Regions from separate parts of the Homo sapiens genome. Here region 1 is linked to region 2. Evidence: promoter capture Hi-C in human tissues and cell types (Jung and others, 2019). All regions are on one chromosome and are shown on one strand. The core of a region is centred on a gene start or on the middle of the fragment in contact, and the rest is flanking DNA. Distances in the headings are between cores, read along the strand shown. Region 1 overlaps BMP2K (BMP2 inducible kinase). Region 2 holds the start of ANXA3 (annexin A3).

Region 1 (4,241 bases), core at 303-2,802, 310 kb after region 2:
TAAAGATCATTCTGGCCTGACCTGTTTCTGTAGGGTTTCCTTTATGTGTAACTTAATCTACCCCACTAAGAAAAAAGAAGGAATGTGGTACCTTTCCTTTTTTTTTTTTTTTTTTTTTTTGTGAAGCCCTCGCCATATTGATGTACTCTTTTCTCTGTTGAAGCTGAAAGCTTTGCAGTTCTAAAAGTAGATAAGTAGACTCATTCGACATTTACTCAGCAAGTATTTATTGAGTACCTACAAAGAACTAAACATTGGGTATAGACAAATAAACAAGGCCTTCTGCCCTCATTTTCCAGGCCTTACATTCTGTGTCTTGAAAATTATCTGTAGTATGTAGAAACAACACTTAATTCTTATCCTTGGTGTTTGTTGCTTTTTCCAAAATGTAAAATAGTTATTGATTTACGAGTGTAATATAATCTTTCTTTTTACTCAAGATTTACCCAATTATAAATGGATACAGTGGTGTTCTTCTGCTTATTTTCCAAGGTTTCTGTGGCACATGAATATGAAATTGACATTTGTGTAACATGTAGTGATATTTGCAGATTAGATCTGGCAAATACATGTGAATAATTTATAGGTATCTGATGTGAAAGTAATAGTGTCTCATAGTACTTTTAAAGTTCAATGATATATCCATAGCTTACAAAAACTTTCTGCAATTAAAATAAAAAACTAAAATGAGACGTTTTATTTTTTTTCTTCCAAGAATTCTTCTATTCCTTCAGCTCTTCCTGAACCGATGACTGCTAGTGAAGCAGCTGCTAGGAAAAGCCAAATAAAAGCCAGGTAGGCAAAACTATGCTGAAATTGAAAAGGCATTAAAAAAAATGATAGGTCTTGTTTTTAATCCTAGCAAGTGTAATTGATTAAATATCATCTTCATCCACAAAGAATGTTGTGTTGCTTATTGTATGTGGTATAATTGAGATAGCAAATACAAAATAAGCTTTTAAAAATATTAGATAAGGAGTCTGGCATCATCTCACTGGAACTGTTCACTCTATGACAAGTGATTATTTAACTGATGATGTGACAGCGGGTCTTTTTTTTGGACAGGATTTGTCATTTTCATCACATAGCAACTCTAGTTTAGGAAATACTATGTTTTGAGTTTATAGATGTTTATTTTTTTAATTTAAGGAAAGAAAAAAATAGCTCCTACAGGTAACTAGAATATATAGAATATGTATGTACTTTGTAGAATTTGTAATGAGTGATTATAATACTTTTTAAGGCTGGTATATGTTTTCAATCTTATTTTTCAGAGTATTTATTATATTAATAATAAGTTTGAACTATATTATGTAAGTTAAGACTGAATCTGTTAATGATTGATTTTTCCCCCCCTCACACTTTTTTGAATTTAAAAGTTAATAAGCAGGATTATATCTTAGATTATCAGACAGGTATAATACTACATTTGGGGAGATTTCTTGGTCACAGCAATTTTGTATTGTATGCTATTTATGCAAAGTTTATTTGTTTACACAATACAAAAATATATTTGTTCATATGCTTTTTATATGCAAGATGTAGACAATTTAAACACAAAGAAAAAAAAAGCAGTTTTTATTTCCAAGGAGTTCACGTTCTAATTGACAAGTAAACGATTACAACCTGATAGATATTAGGCTACTTTGAGAGTGTGGAGGAGGGGAAAGACTGGGAACAGAGAAAACAGGAGCACATAAAGGATGCTTTCCCTGCGGATGGGAGTTGCTGCACTCTTCCTTGAATGATGAATAGTCAATCACTTGGAAGGGTGTGGAGTGAAATTATAGCAGGCAGGCAGTTTAGGCAAGAATGACTATTGTGAAACTACAGGACTAGGACAAAAGGGGACATATACAGGAGTAGTGGGAAATGAAGCTGGAGAGGTAGATAAATGCCAATCATGAACAACTTTGTTTATATATCATGCTGAGAAATTTGGACTTTGGCCTATAGGTCAGTTAATTTTCAACCTTCTAGTCAGTTCTACTCTTTGAGACTTGGTTGTGACTGTGTTGTAAATGATCTGTTACTTATACATTGTTAAAATTTCATTTGCGAATGACTTATTTTAAAAAATGGTGTTACTTTAAAAATATCTTCATTCACTTGAATTTCAAAATGTTCTTTTGAGAAGAGGTGAAGGTGTAAAGTTATATCTAACTTGCAGGAATCCAGGTTGAACAGCAATTGGTCTTATCTATGACATAGCTTTAATTAGCATCCACTGTTATAGTTGAGTGTTAATTATGAATTATTGTAGGATTTGTCAGTTGAATTTTATTGTGACTTCTGTTTTTTAAAATAATTAGTAAATAATTAAATCTTTGAGAAAGTAGGTGCAGATTTTTAAAAAAAGCGTAAGTCAGCTGAACAAGAATGATGATTTGATTATTTTTTCACCCTAATGCAAGTTATAGCTTTAGAGTTACAAGACAATGAAATAGTGCTATTAAAATTCACAGTGCTTATTTATAGTATGTTAAATCTGAACATTATGTATATTAAAAAATAAGGTTGATTGGTACTTATTGGTTACTAATATAAATTTACTCTTTATGAATATTAGTGAAAACTTGAAAAAATCTAAATGTATACAAAGCTTAATATTAAAAAATTTAGTTTTTTCCATGTAAAGAGCACATTTTGGGAGGAGAAATCATTTACTAGCAGTTTCATTACCCACGTTTTCAAAAAGCGCCTGTGGGTTTCTCAGCTGCCTTCAATCTGTGGTATTCTTTGCCTTCTTAAAAGGTCGCTCTCATCTCCCCAAACTTTGCATCTGCTCTTAGTATGGTTTAAGATGTGAAATTTATCTGACACATGTCTTAAAGATTGAGACACTGAGAATCACTGGCCTGGCAGATGGAAACATTGAAGGATTTTAAGCAGGAGAGTGTGAGTCTGAGTTCTAGGAAACCTGTGATGATTTTGTTCAGGTGATGGCAAGGAGAAAAGAAGGGAAGCAGAAAAACAGCTCTGTGACTGTTGTAATAGTGAAAATGAGACTGTACAGCAGTATCGATGCAATAATTACTGTTTTTAACTTCAGTCGATTTTGTATCTTCCCTATGCCTAATCTGCCCAGGCATTTTCTTCCCATTCCTTCACATAGAATGCCTGGTTTCTTTGTCACTGCCTAATAAAGTCAAACTTATTATGAAAATTTTAAACCCCAGTTTCTACCTGAAGCCTTCTGTAGCCAAATTAGGTTAAAAGTACAATTACATCTCCATAAATTCTTGACAGCACTAGCTTGGCACTGATGATTTTTACTATCTTATATTTATTACATTTCCACTAACATATGCCCTGTCTTCCTAGGTATGCTGTAAATTCTTTGAAGACAGGGTGTTATGCAGTGTTTTGCTGGATATCAGTAAATGTACAATACATATTACTGTATTGATAAAACAGAGACATCAGAGTGAACAAAGTATACAGACTTTTAATATGCTTCTTAGGGCTTTTGCTATGCCTACGTGTGTTGTGAATCTGTAAAGAGGGTTTAGACCAGCAACAAGGCAACATCAGGTCTGGCCTGTACTAGCCGTTTAATACAGAATGGATAGTTAAAGAGAGAGATTGTGTACAATATTTCCCCCAAATTACTTGAGCTTAGGGAGTATAGCATTGATTGTAATGCCACATCAATAATTTAATGTCAGTAAATACTTGATTATCATTAAAACAAGATATAATTGATTACATATATATATACACCGATATATATATCGGTGTATATATATATGTAATATCTGTATATATTTGGCCTATTAGTTAAATTTTCATGTCTTTTACCATCCCCATCCCATCTAGAGCTTAAGTGTTACTTTCAGAAAACGGCATACATATAATTCTAAGATCTTTTGATTCAGTGTCACGTTTTTTTTTTTGGTACCTCTTGGAAAGATAGTTGTTAATAGGGCTCCCTCTTGTGGTACACACAGATATTGGGAAATAACTGGATCTGTGCACTTGTTGATAGATGCAAATGCAGCAGATGTGTGCTTCATAAATCATATGTATGTAAAAATTTTAAGTATTCACTTGAAAATGTGTAAGGGGATTTAATAAAGATATTTTATTGTGAATCCTGTTGGAAAGTGAACATTTGGTCCTATTAACAAGTATTTGAGTTTTTGTACTTAATTTATAGAAAGCAAGTTGATAAATATATAAATATTTTACCTTTTTTGTTTTTTAAAAAAAGCAAATGTTGGTGTCTTCTCAAATTATAT
Region 2 (4,988 bases), core at 2,489-4,988:
CGTCTGAGAAGTGAGGAGACCCTCTGCCTGGCAACCGCCCCGTCTGAGCAGTGAGGAGCCCCTCCGCCCGGCAGCCGCCCTGTCTGAGAAGTGAGGACCCCCTCTGCCCGGCAGCCACCCCGTCTGGGAAGTGAGGAGCGTCTCCGCCCGGCAGCCACCCCGTCCGGGAGGGAGGTGGGGGGTCAGCCCCCACCAGGCCAGCCACCCCGTCCCGGAGGGAGGTGGGGGTTAGCCCCCCACCCGGCCAGCCGCCTTGTCTGGGAGGGAGGTGGGGGGTCAGCCCCCCGCCCGGCCAGCCGCCCCGTCCGGGAGGTGAGGGGTGCCTCTGCCCGGCCGCCCCTACTGGGAAGTGAGGAGCCCCTCTGCCCGGCCAGCCGCCCCATCTGGGAGGGAGGTGGGGGGGTCAGCCCCCTGCCCGGCCAGCCGCCCCGTCAGGGAGGTGAGGGGCGCCTCTGCCCGGCTGCCCTTACTGGGAAGTGAGGAGCCCCTCTGCCCAGCCACCACCCTGTCTGGGAGGTGTACCCAACAGCTCATTGAGAACGGGCCATGATGACAATGGCGGTTTTGTGGAATAGAAAGGGGGGAAAGGTGGGGAAAGGATTGAGAAATCGGATGGTTGCCGTGTCTGTGTGGAAAGAAGTAGACATGGGAGACTTTTCATTTTGTTCTGTACTAAGAAAAATTCTTCTGTCTTGGGATCCTGTTGATCTGTGACCTTACCCCCAACCCTGTGCTCTCTGAAACATGTGCTGTGTCCACTCAGGTTTGAATGGATTAAGGGCGGTGCAAGATGTGCTTTGTTAAACAGAGGCTTGAAGGCAGCATGCTCCTTAAGAGTCATCACCACTCCCTAATCTCAAGTACCCAGGGACACAAACACTGCGGAAGGCCGCAGGGTCCTCTGCCTAGGAAAACCAGAGACCTTTGTTCACTTGTTTATCTGCTGACCTTCCCTCCACTATTGTCCTGTGACCCTGCCAAATCCCCCTCTGCGAGAAACACCCAAGAATGATCAATTAAAAAATAAATAAATAAATAAATAAATAAATAAATAAATAATAAAAAAAATAATAATAAAATGTGAAATAATTAGGAAGTGGTTAATTTTGAGTACCTATTACCTTTGCTTTTAACGTAATTTATTCAATTGTATTTATTTAACTTGTAATAATGTCTACATTAATACTGGCTGTGAAATAACTGAAAATTCAGGAACTGGCTTTCACATGCTGGTATAACCCAGCTCCAACACATCACTGTAACAGCAGCTATGTATTCAACAGCCACAATCACGTAGTCGGTCTTTCCTTCACATTTTACCATATGTTCTAAATATATCTCAATAACTTTGCTTTAAAAATTTGTATTTGGCTGTTAAATTGTTCTTTTGATCAGGATGCTATAGGAAAATTCCCTTTTTACTAACCTGTAAAGTTCTGTGTATTCAGAATAATGAAACTTTTATTAAATAACCTTTTCTGAATTCTTTTTCTGGATAACCATAAACCTGGATTCTAACAGCATCCTCTAATATTTCCTTCCAAGAAAACTCATCCTTTGGGGAAAAAATAGTTTTATAATATGCCATAGCATGTTTCTAATATAAATGGTGGTAATTGGGCTGTTGATACAACTAGAAAAACTCAAAAAATGATAAAAGTGCATTTGTTAAAGTTACCATCAGGAAATCAAAGAAGTTAAATCCTGAATGGTTTAAACAATTAAAATAAAGCCTACATGTAAAACATCACCTGTTACTCATTTTCTTCTGGCTATAAATCTAGCCCTATGACTTCCTAGTTGCCTGGAATACAACTCGTAGAACTTACTGAGTCCCTCTGAGCCTGTGTCTGTATCTGCAAAATAGAGGCAATCATACCTAATTTACAGCTAGTTGGTAAGCATGACATAGATCACGTACGTCAAGTGCATTACCCAGTGTCTGGCACAAATAATAATAAATATTTTCCCCCATTTCATGCTAATCTCAGAATTTTTTGAGGTAACATGGGATTTAACAGTTTATTGTGGTGAAGTCTGAATGGGAGTCAGGAATTACTATGCAGAACAGAATGCAGAACACCATCCTATCTTCTCTCTTGCAGAAAGCCCATCACTTCGGATTTGTAGATCTGAGAGGGCTCCCAGGGCACTGGCCTTTTAAGCATGACCACTTCTGCCTTCTCCGTTGTAGCTCCTCTTAAACCAGTGGTTCTCAAACTTTAGGATGCATCAGAATCACTTGATGGCGCAGGGTTTCAGGGAATTTGCATTTCTAATGAGTTTCTAGGTCCCAGGACTCAGCCTTAAGGACCAAGACTGTAATCTCTTCAACTCACACTCAAGCAGCTCCAGCCATGCTTATCCTCTAAAAATCCTCTGTGCTCCACCTGTTCACCCTACCTCCTCTCAACTCCTAGAAACCAGTGATTTTTTTTACTGTCTCCGTAGTGTTGCCTTTTCTGGAATGTCATATAGTTGGAATCATAGTGTGTAGCATTTTCAAATGGGCTTCTTTCTCTTAATAATATGCATTTAAGTTTCTTCCATGTGTTTTTATAGCTTGATAGCTAATTTCTTTTCAGTGCTGAATAAAATTCTATTGTATAGATGTATCACAGTTTATTTATCCATTCACCTACGAATTACATCTTGGTTGCTTCCGACTTTTGATACTTAGGAGTAAAGCTACTATAAACATCCATGTGCAGGTGTTTGTGGAGGTAAGTTTTCAAATCCTTCGGGTGAATACATAAGGGGCCCAGTGATGACTGAGTGCAAGCAATACTTTTTACTTACGTGGTCTCGGATAAATCACTTCACTTTTCTAAGCCTCAGTTTTCTCTTCTGCAAATTGTGATAAAAATAGCACCTCCTAGAGTTCCCTTGAAGATAAAAGAGGTAAGGTATTCAAGCACTTCAATGCCTGATACTCAATACATGGTAACTTTTTCTACATCCTTCAGCACACAACTGCTCATAATTCCCTCATACGAGTAGGGCTTTAACCTTTTAGCCTCGATGATTTGTTTTGCTCTTCCAAATGCCTAGAATGCCCTTCCAGGTTACCGTCTCCCTGAGCCTTTGGTTGGAATCCTCATACCAGAGGGTCAACACGTTTAGTAGAGGAATTACTGAAATAGTTGGGTTCCAAACACTAGCTCTGGCATTTACCTTCTGTGTAAATTGGCTGAAGTTACCCAACGTCTCTGTATCTCAATTTCCTCATCTATAAAATGGGGATAATAGTATCTACCTCATAGAGTTGTTGTCGGAGCCATTTTAATGGCAAAAACCGCAATTACTTTTGCACCAACCTAATAAATCCGCGCATATTCTTAAAGAAGTTAGAACAGTGCCTGGTACAAAGTAAATGCCAGATCAATGTTATTAATGTTAGGTGTCCGCCACCTATGCCACGCAGTGAGTTCCTTAGGTATAGGGACAGTCTAATCTCCGAATCCACACTGCCTAGAACAAAATAAGCATTGCAGTACATTTGAGAAAGTAAAGGTGTAGTGGAAACCGAGAGCGAAATGAGGGCGTAGGGAGAAAAGGGTGGGGAAGCTTAGAGACCGGTGAGGGAGCAGAGCTGGGGCGCCTGTGTACAGGGATAGAGCCCGGCGGCAGCAGGGCGCGGCTTCCCTTTCCCGGGGCCTGGGGCCGCAATCAGGTGGAGTCGAGAGGCCGGAGGAGGGGCAGGAGGAAGGGGTGCGGTCGCGATCCGGACCCGGAGCCAGCGCGGAGCACCTGCGCCCGCGGCTGACACCTTCGCTCGCAGTTTGTTCGCAGTTTACTCGCACACCAGTTTCCCCCACCGCGCTTTGGGTAAGTTCAGCCTCCCGGCGCGTCCCCGCGAGCCTCGCCCACAGCCGCCTGCTGACGGGTGGCTTGGGGAGGTCGCGGCGCCTCGCCCAGTTCCCCCGCGAGTGCAGCTCGACCCTGGGCAGGGCTGGCGGCTGGCGCCCGCGCCCGGCCCCAACCCAGCTGCGTGGGTGGGGAGCTGGAGGGACCTCAGTCCTGCATTTCAGAGTCGAGGAGACTGGGCCCACGGGGGGGAAAGTGCCGTGCCATGGGTGGGTCACCCAGGTCTTGGTGGGGCCCAAGCTGATACTCAGCTGTCCTCGCTCCCTGAAAGCTTCGCTTATTACAGCTAGCAGCGTAAGGGATCCACTTAGCCATCTCGGCCTCCCCAGTCCTAAAGGTCTAGGGGACAGAAAAAAGCTGGGAGTCGGAAGGTTCCTCGGGTCCCCGGCATGGCAGACGGGGCTGGCTCAGAGGTCTGCTCTGTGGACTTGGAATCGCACCCATCCTGTGAGCATCTTCTCCCCCTCACATAGGCAATTTATTTTATTTTACTTATTTTTTTTAGAAGGTAGAAAACAGTGGATTTGCATATTGAGGGTTGGAAGTTCAAGAAGTTTGCTTTTTCCTGAAAAGACTAACCGTTTTCTTTGCAACAGAATCCTATTGACTAGATATGAATCATTCCCTTGGTATTTGAGTCACCAGGTGGAAGATTTGGATACTTGATTGCAGATGACCATATATAGGAAAGTATGCAGGTGCTGGGAGGTTCTGGGTCGCTGGAGGCCCCTCTGGCTACTGATACGAAATTGCATAGCCCAGGCCGAATTCTTTCCAAGGATTTGTGTTCAGCACTGACAGCAAGACCCTGCCCTCCGGGAAAGATACATTTACTATGTTCACCAACATCATTTTTTAAAATGTAACTAATTAAAACGTTACTCCATGAAGATACCACCTTTGGTTTTCACGAAGACGGAAAACTTCAGACTGACCAGAAAGGGAATTTTTAAATGTAAAGAAAACCAGAATCTTGTTCCCAGAACTCTGTGGTTGTGTAGAGAAACCTGTTTAGAAATAACCGTAGAGGAGGAAGTAAAAGGAAATGATGTAATCCCTTTCAGGAAAGGATATATTGAAATTCTGTTTAAGTCATTTGGCCTTCGCTGTGGAGTAATTCT

The links. Contacts are between HindIII fragments. The study calls those that stand out against the background at their distance.
Region 1: a contact is called between a fragment that was not itself captured here and the fragment with the promoter of ANXA3 in region 2, in 1 of the 25 tissues and cell types used here (neural progenitor cells).

The regions. Positions count from the first base shown.
Region 1 is chr4:78,860,674-78,864,914 of GRCh38, forward strand. It overlaps BMP2K (BMP2 inducible kinase), which reads left to right. Exons shown (of 16, transcript NM_198892.2): 9 at 716-795. Among named protein-coding and RNA genes, the nearest start is that of PAQR3, 77 kb to the right of the region's middle. RefSeq lists an enhancer at 1,782-2,076. The HindIII fragment of the contact is 4,055 bases long and covers 1-3,580 here.
Region 2 is chr4:78,548,032-78,553,019 of GRCh38, forward strand. It overlaps ANXA3 (annexin A3), which reads left to right and starts at 3,739. Exons shown (of 13, transcript NM_005139.3): 1 at 3,739-3,828. RefSeq lists enhancers at 4,104-4,855, 4,159-4,988. The HindIII fragment of the contact is 13,286 bases long and covers 1-3,852 here.